2 separate regions of the Homo sapiens genome follow, and region 1 is linked to region 2. Evidence: promoter capture Hi-C in human tissues and cell types (Jung and others, 2019). All regions are on one chromosome and are shown on one strand. The core of a region is centred on a gene start or on the middle of the fragment in contact, and the rest is flanking DNA. Distances in the headings are between cores, read along the strand shown.

Region 1 (7,129 bases), core at 4,445-6,944, 140 kb after region 2:
TCGCTGGGTTCTACCCCGATCAACCAACTCTCAGATAAATTTTTTGGTCTTAGAGAAGAATGGAAACAAAAATGGAGGGGCAAGATAGAGGGAAGGCAAATTTTTATGTCTAGGACTTGCCAATTTTGTCATTTATTTATTTATTTATTTATTTATTTATTTATTTATTTATTTATTTTCAGATGGAGTCTTGCTCTATCACCCAGGCTGGAGTGCAGAGGCATGATCTCGGCTCACTGCAGCCTCTGCCTCCCAGGTTTAAGTGATTCTCCTGCCTCAACCTCCCAAGTAGCTGGGACTACAGGGGCACACCACCACACCTGGCTAATTTTTGTATTTTTAGTAGAGATGGTGTTTAGCTATGTTGGCCAGGCTGGTCTCAAACTCCTGACTTCAAATGATCCACCCACTCGGCCTCCCACAGTGCTGGGATTATAAGTGTGAGCCACTGAGCCCAGCCTGTTTTGTCATTTATTAAATTGGTATAGCCAAAAAAGAAAAAAGAAAAGAAAAATAACAACTTTGGAGAACAATTTGGCAGTGACTAATGTTTAAATGGGACATACTTTACAGCCTGGCATTTTCAGTTCTCCATACCTGCCCTAGAGAAACACTCACATGAGTACCCGCAGTACATGAGTACAAGATGTTCAAAGCAGGATTGTTTATTAAATTATCAATAATATATGATTATTAACAGTGAAGAAATAGCATCTAACCAAATATCCAACAGGTGAATGGTGAAACTATGGTAAATCCATAGAAAGGAATACCAGGCACCAGCTTAAAAAAATGAGATAGATAATAATAATGGCAAACATTTACACAGCACTTCTAAATGCTTTATCTATTAACTCAATCTTCACAACAACCTGATGTAGACAGATGCTACTATTATCTCTTTCTATATATGAGGAAATTGAGCCACAGAAAGGTTAAATAATTGGCCCAAGGCTGGGCACAGTGGCTCACGCCTATAATCCCAACACTTTGGGAGGCCGAGGCAGGCAGATCACTTGAGGTCAAGAGTTCGAGACCAGCCTGGCCAACATGGTGAAACCCCATCTCTACTAAAAATACAAAAATTAGCCAGGCGTGGTGGTGCATGCCTGAAGTCCCAGCTACTTGGGAGGCTGAGGCAGGAGAATTGCTTGAACCTGGTAGGCAGAGGTTGCAGTGAGCTGAGATCATGCCATTGCACTCCAGCCTGAGTGACAGAGGGAAACTCTGTCTCAAAAAAAAAAAAAAAAAAAAAATTATAGGACTTGACAAGAGCAGATCTCCAAGACATTTTGTTAAAAGAAAAAAAGCAAACTGTAGAACAATATATGTTATATGATATATAGGTTAAAAAAAAATCACTAGACACAGAAGCTAATCTGTATATTTTCTGCATGTATATTCTATATATACACAAGTGTACACACACACACACATACATATACATATGTGTGGGTGTATATATGTACACAAAATTGTACCAGTGGCTGCTTCTGGAAAGGAGCTTAGGGTGGGGGAGTAGGAGTAGTCAAAGAGATTTTAGCGTCATCTGTATTGTTTTGATTTGATTAATTCAGACTTTATCAAGCAGGTCCTCTGCGTTCAACTCCATGATTTTCCCCAAAGATAAATCTCTGGTACCTAAAAACAAAGACGATTGGCTAGACGTGGTGGCTCACGCCTGTAGTCCCAGTACTTTGGGAGGCCAAGGAGGGTGGATCACCTGAGGTCAGGAGTTCAAAACCAGCCTGGCCAACATGGAGAAACCCCGTCTCTACTAAAAATACAAAAAATTAGCCAGGCATGGTGGCGCATGCCTGTAATCCCAGCTTCTCTAGAGGCTGAGGCAGGAGAATCGCTTGAACCCAGGAGGTGGAGGTTGTGGTGAGCCAGGATTGCGCCATTGCACTCCAGCCTGGGCAACAAGAGCGAAACTCCGTCTCAAAAAAAAAAAAAAAACAAAGACGATTTCTTTGTCTTTCCCTCATCCAAGAACATGATTGTCCTGTTCCAGCAGCTGATGCATAATTCACTGTCCATTGTATATGCATTCACAATTTGAAATAAAAGTTCATCTTTGCAGCTAAAACTAATCACCACTTCATGGCCCAAGATGAGATGAAATTTAACAAACATGTAAATAATTTAAGTTGCAATAGTACAAATTTCTGGAGATACTGAATCTAGAGTTACTGAAATTGACAGAATACAACAAAGAAATTTTATGCAGCAACTGGGGGGTCCAATGTAAAAACATTAAGCAGTAAGCTGTGGCTGTGTTGAATTTACAAGTTAAGATGCATGGGGTTCCGCCTGGCGTGGTGGCTCACTCCTGTAATCCCAGCACTTTGGTAGGCCAAGGCGGGCGGATCAACTGAGGTCAGGAGTTCAAGACCAGCCTGACCAACATGGAGAAACCCCGTCTCTACTAAAAATACAAAATTAGCTGGGCATGATGGTGCATGCCTGTAATCCCAGCTACTCAGGAGGCTGAGGCAGGAGAATCATTTGAACCTGGGAGGCGGAGGTTGCAGTGAGCCAAGATCATGCCATTGCACTCCAGCCTGGCAACAAGAGTGAACTCCAACTCAAAAAAAAAAAAAAAAAAAAGCATGGGGTTCCATTTCTGATTTATCTTTAGACTCAGAAATCATTAATTCTTGGTTAATGAGAGTTTTGAGCCAGCTTGTTCAATAGTCTATCATTTGGCAAATAGGAATTACAGTTGCCTTTAGATAGGCAATTCTTGATAATTCTGTACAAAAATGGGTAAACTTTCAAACCATCTTTTCCTAGACATTAAAGTATGTGTCCTTTGTGGATGAATCCCACATTAGGATGGTGAACCAGCAGCTACTAGGGAGAAGTCTGCAAGATGTCAAGGGCCAAGAAGTCCCAGTAAGTTAAATCATTTTGTCTTTTTTTTTTTTTTAAGAAAATTTACTGTTAAATATAAACACATCTAGAAACTTGTACAAATCAAAACTGATGGATTTTAACAAAGTAAACATACTCATATAACCGGCACTCAGATTAAACAATTGAAAATTACTAGCAGGAGTCCCTTTTATGCCCCCCTCCAATCACTACCCTCTCTTTCTCCTTTTTTAATTTTTAAAATTTGGCTGGGCACGGTGGCTCACACCTGCAATCCCAGCACTTTGGGAGGCCAAGGTGGGTGGATCACTTGAGGTCAGGAGTTCGAGACCAACCTAGCCAACATGGTGAAACCTCGTCTCTACTAAAAATACAAAAATTAGCCGGGTGGTGTGGTGGCACACATGTAATCCCAGCTACTCAGAAGGCTGAGGCAGGAGAACTGCTTGAACCCAGGAGGTGGAGGTTGCAGTGAGCCGAGATTGTGCCATTGCACTCCAGCCTGGGTGACAGAGCAAGACTCCATCTCAAAAAAAAAAAAGAAAAAAATGTATATTCTTAAATTACAAACGAGGTCTCACTATGTTGTCCAGGCTGGTCTCAAGCAGTCCTCCCACCTCAGCTGTACCAAGCCCACCAACTGCCCTCTCTTAAAAGTAGTCATTATCCTGTTTCCAAAGATTAATTTTACTTTGGCTAGAATTTTCTAAAAACTGAATCACGTAGTATGTAAGCGGTATATACGCGGTTGAGTGTCTGGCTTCCTTTACTCAACATTATTTTTGTGAGAGTTGTTCATGATGCCATGTATAGTTCATTCTCATTGTATAATTCTGTTTTATAAATATCCAACTTATTCAGCCATCCTACTGTTGATGGACATTTGGGTAGTGTCCAGTTTGGGGCTAATGCCAATAACGCTGCTATGCTCAACATATGGCACTCTACTGGACAGTTACCTAAGAGTGGAATTGCTGAGTCATAAGGCAGACATATGTTCGGTTTTAGGAGATACTAACAAACGGTGCTGAAAAATGGTTGTTCACATTTGCACTCTCCCCAGCAGTTCTGGTTGCTGGGCATCTTCAATTTCCTAGGGCTGAATTACCACAAACTAAGTGGCTTAAAACAACAGAAATGGCCAGGCATGGTGGCTCATGCCTGTAATCTCAGCACTTTGGGAGGCTGAGGCAGGCAGATCACCTGAGGTCAGGAGTTTGAGACCAGCCTGACCAACATGGAGAAACCCCATCTCTACTAAAAATACAAAAAAATAGCCAGGCATGGTGGCGGGCGACTGTAGTCCCAGCCACTCAGGAGGCTGAGGCAGGAGAATGGCATGAACCTGGGAGGCAGAGCTTGCAGTGAGCCAAGATTGCACCACTTTGAGAGGCCAAGGTGGGCGGATCACCTGAGGTCAGGAGTTCAGGAACAGCCTGGCCAACATGGCGAAACCCTGTCTCTATTAAAAATACAAAAATTAGCCAGGCGTGGTGGTGCACACCTGTAATCCCAGCTACTCAGGACGCTGAGGTGGGAGAATTGCTTGAACCTGGGAGGCAGAGGCTGCGGTTAGCTGAGATCACACCTCTGCACTCTAGCCTGGGCAACAGAACAAGCTCCATCTAAAAAAAAAAAAAAAAAAGTCTTTTCTGCTCCTTTTGAAATATCAGTGAGTTTTCTTCTTTTTTTCTGTTAGTTGAATTGTACTGATTGATTTTCAAATATTAAGCCAAACTTGCATTCCTGAAGTAAACTCAATTTGAATGTGTTGTACTATTCTTTGTATTTATTGCTGAATTCCATTCACTAATATTTAGGATTTTTACATCTCTTCTTGAGAAAGACTGACCAAAGTGTTTCCATTCTTGTAATGTTCTTGTTGGATTTGTGTATGAAGTGAACTACAGTCATGCATCACTTAATGATGGGGATATGTTCTGAAAAACGCATCAGTAGCTGATTCTGTGGTTGTCTGAATATCATGGACTCTATTTACACAAACCTAAATAGAATAGCCTATTATACTTAGGTTATATGGTGTAGTCTATTGCTCCTAGGCTGCAAACCTGTACAGCATGTTACTGTACTGAATACGGTAAGCAACTGTAACAGAATGGTAAGATTTGTATATCTAAATATAGAAAAGGTACAGTGAAAATATGATATAAAAGCTTAAAAATGGTACATCTGCATAGGGCACTTACCATGAATGGAGCTTGTAGGACTGAAAGTTGCTCTGGGTGAGTCAGTGAGTAGTGAGTGAATGTGAAAGCCTAGGTTGTTACCGTGCACTACAGTAGACTTCATAAACACTGTACACTTAGGCTACACTAAATTTACTTCAAAATATTTATCTTTCTTCAATAATAAATTAATCTTAGCTTACTGTGACTGTTTTACTTTATAAATTTTTAAATTTTTTAAACTCTGTACAGTGGTATAAAAATATTTTCTTTCTCACCGGGAGTGGTGGCTCATGCCTGTAATCCCATCACTTTGGGAGGCCGAGGCAGGCGGATCACAAGATCAGGAGATTGAGACCATCCTGGCCAACATGGTGAAACCCCATCTCTACTAAAAATACAAAAAAATAGCCAGGCATGGTGGCAGGCGCCTGTAGTCCCAGCTACTCGGGAGGCTGAGGCAGGAGAATGGCGTGAACCCAGGAGGCAGAGCTTGCAGTGAGCCAAGATCACACCACTGCACTCCAGCCTGGGCGACAGAGCAAGACTCCATCTCAAAAAAAAAAAAATTCTTTCTCTATATCCTTATTCTATATACTTTTTTCTATTTTTAACATTTTTTATTTTTATTTTTACTTTTTAAATATTTTTGTTAAAAACTAAGTCATGGCCGGGTGCAGTGGCTCACGCTTGTAATCTCAGTACTTTGGGAGGCTGAGGTGGGTGGATCACTCGAGGTCAGGAGTTCAACACCAGCCTGGCCAATATGGTGAAACTCTGTCTCTACTAAAAATATAAAAATTAGCCGGGTGTGGTGGTGCGCGCCTGTAGTCCCAGCTACTCAGGAGGCTGAGGCAGAAGAATCGCTTGAACCCAGGAGGCGGAGGTTGCAGTAAGCCAAGATCATGCCACTGCACTCCAGCCTGGGAGACAGAGCAAGACTCCATCTCAAAAAAAAAAAACAACAAATACACACACACACACACACACACAAAAACCATTTCCAATAGTGCTAAGTCCTATGAAGAATGTGGAATACCACAGTGTGATAAGGGAATCATGTGGGAGAAAAGCTGCTAGATAGGGTGGTCAGGACAAGAGGTGACATCTCAACAGAGGCCTGGCTTTTCTGAATTTCATTTTCCAAAATCTGTAAAATAGGCCAGGTGCAGTGGCTCATGCCTGTAATCCCAGCACTTTGAGAGGCTGAGGCAGGTGGATCACCTGAGGTCAGGAGTTCCAAACCAGCCTGGCCAACATGTTGAAATCCTGTTTCTACTAGAAATACGAAAGAATTAGCTGGGCATGGTGGCATGCACCTGTAATACCAGCTACTTAGGAGGTTAAGGCATGAAAATTGTCTGAACCTGGGAGGTGAAAGTTGCAGTGAGCCAAGATCACACCACTGTGCTCCAGCCTGTGCGACAGAGTGAGACCCTCTCTCAAAAAAAAAAAAAAAATCTGTAAAATAAAGACAAGGATACATTATCTCACAAGCGTCTTCAAAGGCCTGAATGAGGCAATGCTTACAGAACACATGCATGGTCCTGATATCTACACCTAATAAATGACGGCTACTATAAATCATGTAATATTAAACGTAACTTTATAAGTTAATAAAATTAAAGAACCTAGAACCTGAGGGCTTGTCATGGCTAATAGGTTTGGAAACTTGCTTTTTCAGAGACCTGCGATGGACTTCACAGATTTGTCCAGGCTGCCCCTGGCCCTCCATGACACACCCCCGATTCCTGGACAACCAGAGGAGATACAGCTGCTTAGAAAGGAGGCGACTCCTAGATCCAGGGATAGCCCCGTCTGGTGCCAGTGTGGAAGCTGCCTCCCATCTCAACTCCCTGAGAGCCACAGGTGCCTGGAGGAGCTGTGCTGCCGGAAAAAGCCGGGGGCCTGCATCACCACCTCAGAGCTGTTCAGGAAGCTGGTCCTGTCCAGACACGTCCTGCAGTTCCTCCTGCTCTACCAGGAGCCCTTGCTGGCGCTGGATGTGGATTCCACCAACAGCCGGCTGCGGCACTGTGCCTACAGGTGCTACGCCACCTGGCGCT
Region 2 (6,817 bases), core at 2,538-5,037:
AGGTTGTGGTGAGCTGAGATCTCGCCACTACACTCCAGCCTGGGCGACACAGCGAGACTCCATCTAAACAAAACAAAACAACAAAAAAAAACGCCTTCACTTCCTGTATTGAGGTGGGTACTAGGAGAATTATCTCCAATGTACAGATGAGAAGACTGAGGCAGTGAGGAGCTTGCCATGGTCTCCCAGCCAGAAGGCAGCAGAGTCAGAGAAAGAGCCAGAACTCAAGTAGGGGATGGTTCTTCCGCCTCTTTCTTCCTCGTGACCCAAGGCTGTGAGCCAGGCCCTGCTTCCAAGGGACCATGGGCATTCAGACCCAGCACCTCCACCCCCTGGGAGAGGGTTGGAGATGGCACCCTGTGTGTGAATGAAGGACACATTCCCCCCGAAGGCCAGTCTAGACTTCCCTTTCTTTTTGAGACAGGGTCTTGCTCTGTTGCCCAGGCTGGAGTGCAATGGCACGATCTTCACTCACTGAAGCCTCGACCTCCTGGGCTTAAGCAATCCTCCCACCTCAGCCTCCGGAGTAGCTGGAACTACAGGCATGCACCGCCATGCCCAGCTAATTTTTTATATATATTTTTGTAGAGTCGGGGGTCTCACCATTTTGCCCAGGCTGGTCTCGAATTCCTGGGCTCAAGCAATCCTCCCACCTTGGCCTCCCAAAGTGCTGGGATTACAGGCGTGAGCCACTGTGCCTGGCGTAGACTTCCCTTTCTGCCTTTCCCACTGGTAAGATCCAGGCAGAGAGAAAAGAACACATCCAGAACAGGCTTCCTGATTTGCTTCAGTTTTAAACCTATTTAAGCACAATTCATTTGAAGACGAGCATTCCCTTATGTGGACCAGCTCCGCTCACTAGATTTTCAGAGGGTGGGGAACGGGAGGGTTTAGACTCTAAATAAGATATATTATTCCTCATTAGTCATGGCTCACTGGGGATTGCTACCATTTAGTGGTTTCAAGAGGAAAAGTGGCTATGATGTGCAGGAAGTATTTGAGGCTTAGGTAAATAGCATTTCCTGCCGTAAAAACTCATTCTTGGCCGGGCGTGGTGGTTCACACCTGTAATCCCAGCATTTGGGGAGGCCGAGGTGGGTGGATCACTTGAGGTCAGGAGTTCGAGACCAGCCTGGCCAACATGATGGAACCCCGTCTCTACTAAAAATGCAAAGATTAGCCAGGCGTGGTGGAACACACACACACACAATAAACTTATTCTTGTAGCATCCTCCTCTTACCAGACATTCCTTATTCCCTCCACTTTATTCTCAAGTTTGTTGGGGAGGGGGTGGTCTAGGAGGGTCTGCCAGAGTCAGACTTGAGTCCCAGGCCCAGAAGAAAGCTTGGCAAGAATTATAATGATGCTTCTGTTTCTGAGCATTTATCGTGCATGAATCATTCAGCCTGCATTGCACCACTGGCTTGGTGAGGGAGAGATGATGATGATGCCCCAATCACAGATGAAAAGAATGTGGGTTTGAGAAAGAAGAGTGGGAAGGTCAAAACCACACAGCTGGTAAAGGAAGAAGCGAAGAGTCTGTCTAATATCAAAATTTGTGGTTTCTCACTTATAAATTGTATGGCCTCAGGCTTCATATGCTGGGGATAGGTGCAAAGAACGGATAGGGGCCCAGGGCTTCTAGATCCCTCTGTGAGTTGGTTGCCCCTAGAGAGAGAACTTGAGCACTGGGCTGGGAGTCAGGGGTCCTAATTCTAGTCTTGCCTTTGCCACCAACTCGCTGTGTGACCTTGGGGTATCTCTCACCCTCTCTGTGCCTCGGTTTACTTAATTTTTTAAGTGAGTCATTGGTGAGACTGTCTGATTCTCCAAAGTCTTTCTAGCTCCGACCCTCTTGAATTTTGATCTTAGCTAGCACAGGCGGTGGCATGAAACAGCTGGAGGAAGGGCTTGGGGGAAAATCTCAGTGAGGGGGGCTTGGGTCCCTTGAGTCAAGTTCAAATCCCAGCTTCAACACTGTGTGACCTTGGGCAAGTCACCTCACCTCTCTGAGCCTCCATTAAAAAATCATTTTAGGCCGAGTGCAGTGGCTCACTGTAATCCCAGCACTTTGGGAGGCCGAGGAGGGCAGATCATGAGGTCAGGAGATCGAGACCATCCTAGCCAACACGGTGAAACCCTGTCTCTACTAAAATACAAAAAATTAGCCGGGCGTGGTGGTGGGCGCTGTCGTCCCAGCTACTTGGGAGGCTGAGGCAGGGGAATTGCTTGAACCTGGGAGGCAGAGGTTGCAGTGAGCTGAGATCGTGCCACTGCACTCCAGCCTGGTGACAGAGCAAGACTCTGTCTCAAAAAAAAAAAAACAAAAACAAAAATCATTTTATTGGCCGGCCAGACATGGTGGCTCACACCTGTAATCCCAGCACTTTGGGAGGCCAAGGTGGGCATATTCTTGATCCCAGGAGTTCGAGACCAGCATGGGCAACATTGGTGAAACCCTATCTCTACAAAAAATACAAAAATTAGCTGAGCATGGTGGTGCATGCCTGTAATCCCAAGCTATTTAGGAGGCTGAGGATCACCTGAGCTCAGGGAGATTGAGGCTACAGTGAGTGGTGATTGTGCCACTGCACTCCAGCCTGGGTGACAGAGCGAGACCCTGTCTCTAAAAAAAAAAAAAGTCATTTTATTATCAAAAAGTTAAAACACATAGAAAAATAGATGATACAACTAACACTCATATACCCAACTAGTTGATTCAACAAGTCTAAATTCCTGGCTACATGTGCTTAATCTAAGCCACGTTAAAGTAAATTATAGGCACCAAGGAACTTTGTCCCTAAAATACTTCAGTGTTCGTGTCCAAACAAAAGACAACCTTCTGATAACCACAAAACTACTGTTACACCTAACAAAATCAACAATGATTTCCCATATCAGATATATGTACTATCTGATATCTAGGCCAGTTGTCCCCAAACTATATTTTACAGATGGTTCATTCACACTAGGATCCAACCAAGGACCTCGCATTGTATTGGTTCTGAGCCTCCATTTGCTAATCTGTAAACTGGGCAAAGAATAGTACCTATCTCACAGAGTGCAAGAATTAGAGATAGTGTATGTTAAGAGGTTAGTCCAGTGAGCCCCCAAATGTGAGCTATTATTACTAGACTCATTCTACTCAAGGCAGTGGTGCAGTGGGGTGTAGACAGCTAGGTGGGATGGGGTATTCTGAGATGTCATCAGCATGGGCTAGGGATAAGGAGGACAGGGGTCCCCAGCATCCCCAGGGACGTGGACTCTGATACTGGGTTTTGTCTTGCGTGGGGGCTGGAGGAGCCCAGTCTTACCTTGACTACCTTCAGCACCCGCACATCCTGGTCCAGCCCACGCTTCCCCTGGAAATGCTCCTGCCTCAGAAACTCCTCCACGGTCCGCACAGCGTCTAGCACCTCTTCCTTCCACTCCCGGTGGGGCTGCAGCCACTGAGCCACGAAGGAGTCCAGCCTGGAGGCTGGTGTGCTATACAGTTCCTGCATCAGTGCCATCTCTGTCCCGAGAGTACCGCTGCTGGGCAGATATATAGCCAGGCTCCTACCCAGCTCCCTGGCACACACCTCCTTTTTTAAGGTAGCTCCTCCTCAGCTGCCCTCCAGTGCTCTGTGGGAGGAGGGACCCTAGCAGAGAGGAAACCAGGTGTGACGGGCTGACTCCAGGTCCCCCTTCTTGGAGACACCCTTGCTGCAGTAGGGGCACAGGAGGACTCTGGGCTGAGGCTGGAATATCTGGGGCCACCTTAACAGGCTGGCCGTCTAGTCAATCTGTCATCAGTTTCGATTCTCAACTTTTAGAGTTCTCCTTTATGACGTTGGGAAACTGAAGTTGGATAGTGTTTGACCCCAAAGGAGGCAACTTGCCCAGTAGGTTGGGGTTGGATAGTTGTTAGTCAATTCAACTGCTTACATCTGTCTAAGGAAATTGAGGCTTGGGAACGGAAGGGACTCACTAGTGTTCAGGTGGTGGAGTGAGAATCTGGAGCCCAAGAGAACAGACTGGGAATTCTAGTCTACCTGTGCCAGACTCTAACCTCTTTGACCCTCACTATTCATAGAGTGGGTTTTTTTGTTTTTTTGTTTTTTTTTTTTTTTGGCCGGGTCTTGCTCTGTTGCCCAGGCTGGAGTGCAGTGGTGCAATCTCAGCTCACTACAACCTCTGCCTCACGGGTTCAAGCGATTCTCCTGCCTCAGCCTCCCTAGTAGCTGGGACTACAGACATGTGCCACCACGCCCGGCTAATTTTTTTTTTGTATTTTTAGTAGAGACGGGGGTCTCACCATTTTGGTCAGGCTGGTCTCAAACTCCTGACCTCAAATGATCCGCCCACCTCGGCCTCCCACAGTGCTAGGATTACAGCGTGAGCCACCGCGCCCGGCCCATAGAGTGGGTTTAACAGGTATTATGATTCACGCACTGAACCAAGAAGTTCATGCATTGAGCCAAGAAGACAAAATAAGATGAGGTTCCTGTTCCAAGGGGACTCCCAGAACGGTGGAGGAGACACAGAAAAAAGAGACTGCAAAAGTCCAGTGCGATGAGTTAAGTAGGAAAAAAGCATGAAAACATGAAGCCGGCAGATGAGTTTCATTTGGTGTTAGCAGACACCTGCTTGAGAGGAATCTTAAAGACTGGGGATCCGGGCTGGGCATGGTGGCTCATGCTTGTAGTCCCAGCACTTTGGGAGGCCAAGGTGAGAGGATCACTTGAGGCCAGGAGTTCAAGACCAGCCTGGGCAACATAGCTGGACACCTGCAACTTCCCAAACTCTGAATAATATTAAGTGCTCCAGGGCTTAGTCCTGGGTCCTTTTCTCTTCTTGTTCTAGACTTACTCCCTTGGTGATTTCAGCCAGCGTTTAAATGTTTTTACTCTGGCAACTTCCACATTTTAATTTTATTTTTATTTATTTGTTTATTTTTGAGATGGAGTCTCACTGTCTCGCCCAGGCTGGAGTTCAGTGACACAATCTCGGCTCACTGCAACCTCTGCCTCCCAGGTTCAGGCGATTCTTGTGCCTCAGCCTCCCAAGGAGCTGGGATTACAGGAGCCCGCCACCGCGCCTGGCTAACTTTTTGTATTTTTAGTAGGGACAGTGTTTCACCATGTTGCCCAGGCTGGTCTTGAACTCCTGATCTGCCCTCCTCGGCCTCCCAAAGTGCTGGGATTACAGGCGTGAGCCACCATACCCAGTGACTCCCACATTTGTATCTTAAATCCATACCTCTTCCCTGAAATCCAGACTCATGTATCCAACTCCCCACTCCACATTGGCTTTGAATTCCGGTCTGCCCTTTGCCACACTTGTAACTTCTCTGCTTCTGTGGTGAGGATGATTGCAAGGGCAAGAACAGATGTAGGGAGATGGTCAGGACACTGCACAGTGGTGCAGGTGAGAGGCAGTGGTGGCCTGGAGTTTAAAACTCCAGTTTTTGTTTTAAAAACAAAAAGTTTTTTAAAAAATAGCTAGGTGTGGTGGTGTCCACCTGTAGCCCCAGCTACTTGGGAGGCTGAGGTGGGAGGACCACTTGAGTCTAGGAGTTTCAGGCTGCAGTGAACTATCATGGTGCCACTGCACTCCAGCCTGGGTGACAGCATGAGACTCTGTCTCCAAATAAAAAATAAAAAAGACTGGCACTCCAGCCAGGAGGATGAGGGTACAGCATAGAGGCTGAGAAGTATAAATAATGCTAGGATATGCCAGGGACTCAAGTGTGCTGTGTGCCTTGGGATGAAAGGGTGAGCAGGGGAGAGGTTAGAAATGTACCTGGACAGGTGGGCAGGATTGAATCTTGGAGTGCTATTCACTCATTCGTTCACTCATTCAACAGATACTTACTGGGCACCTACTCTGTGCCAGGCAGGTGCTGTGGATACAACAGTGAACAAACAGTAGTGAAAAATCCCTACCTGCAGATAGTTTTCTTTCTGGTAGTGGAGACAAACAACAAATAGGATAAATAGGTAAAATTATAGTAAAGAAGACGGTGATAAGTGCTAAGCAGAAAAACAAAGCAAGAGAAGGGATTAAGAGGTTGTGTGTGTGTGTGTGTGTGTGTGTGTGTGTGTGTGTGTGTGTGTTGGGGGCATGTATTTAGGTTTCAGTCTTACATAAGGTGATTAGGGAAGGCCTCCCTGAAAAGGAGACATCTGAGCAAAGACATAAGAAGGTGAAGAGTTTGGGAGGCCAAGACGGGTGGATCACAAGGTCAGGAGATCGAGACCATCCTGGTTAATACGGTGAAACCCCATCTCTACTAAAAGTACAAAAAATTAGCCGGGCGTGGTGGCAGGCACCTGTAGTCCCAGCTATTCGGGACGCTGAGGCAGGAGAATGGCGTGAACCCAGGAGGCAAAGCTTGCAGTGAGCCAAGATTGCACCACTGAACTCCAGCGAGACTCCGTCTCAAAAAAAAAAAAAAAAAAGAAGGTAGAGTGAGCCACGTGTGTAACAGAAGGAAGAAGATTCTTCATGGCAGAAGGAGTGGAAAGTACGAGGACCCTGTGGTGGTACTGCCCGGTGGCAAGTATAAGGAACATCAGTGTGCCTGGAACGGAGTGATCAAGAGCAGAGAGTGGAAGGGAATGCGGTTTAAGTAGTAAAGGGTGGCAAGGCAAATAGATACAGGATCCTTTTTTTTTTTTTTTTTGAGATGGAGTTTCACAATTGTTGCCCAGGCTAGAGTGCAATGGCACAATCTCGGCTCACTGCAACCTCCACCTCCCAGGTTCAAGCGATTCTCCTGCCTCAGCCTCCTGAGCAGCTGGGATTCAAGGTGCCCACCGCCACACCTAGCTG

What was found. The method cuts DNA at HindIII sites, captures the fragments that hold promoters and counts their contacts. A contact is called where the count stands out against the background at its distance.
Region 1: a contact is called between a fragment that was not itself captured here and the fragment with the promoter of OASL in region 2, in 1 of the 25 tissues and cell types used here (stomach).

Annotation. Positions count from the first base shown.
Region 1 is chr12:121,177,558-121,184,686 of GRCh38, forward strand. It overlaps P2RX7 (purinergic receptor P2X 7), which reads left to right. Exons shown (of 13, transcript NM_002562.6): 12 at 2,797-2,898; 13 at 6,748-7,129. All of the region lies in intron 2 of LOC105370032 (a long non-coding RNA gene), which reads right to left. Among named protein-coding and RNA genes, the nearest start is that of P2RX4, 29 kb to the right of the region's middle. The HindIII fragment of the contact is 7,055 bases long and covers 2,168-7,129 here.
Region 2 is chr12:121,035,459-121,042,275 of GRCh38, forward strand. OASL (2'-5'-oligoadenylate synthetase like) reads right to left here and starts at 3,788. Exons shown (of 6, transcript NM_003733.4): 1 at 3,316-3,788. The coding sequence starts at 3,513. RefSeq lists enhancers at 2,952-3,453, 3,454-3,953, 3,533-3,952. The HindIII fragment of the contact is 11,669 bases long and covers 1-3,860 here.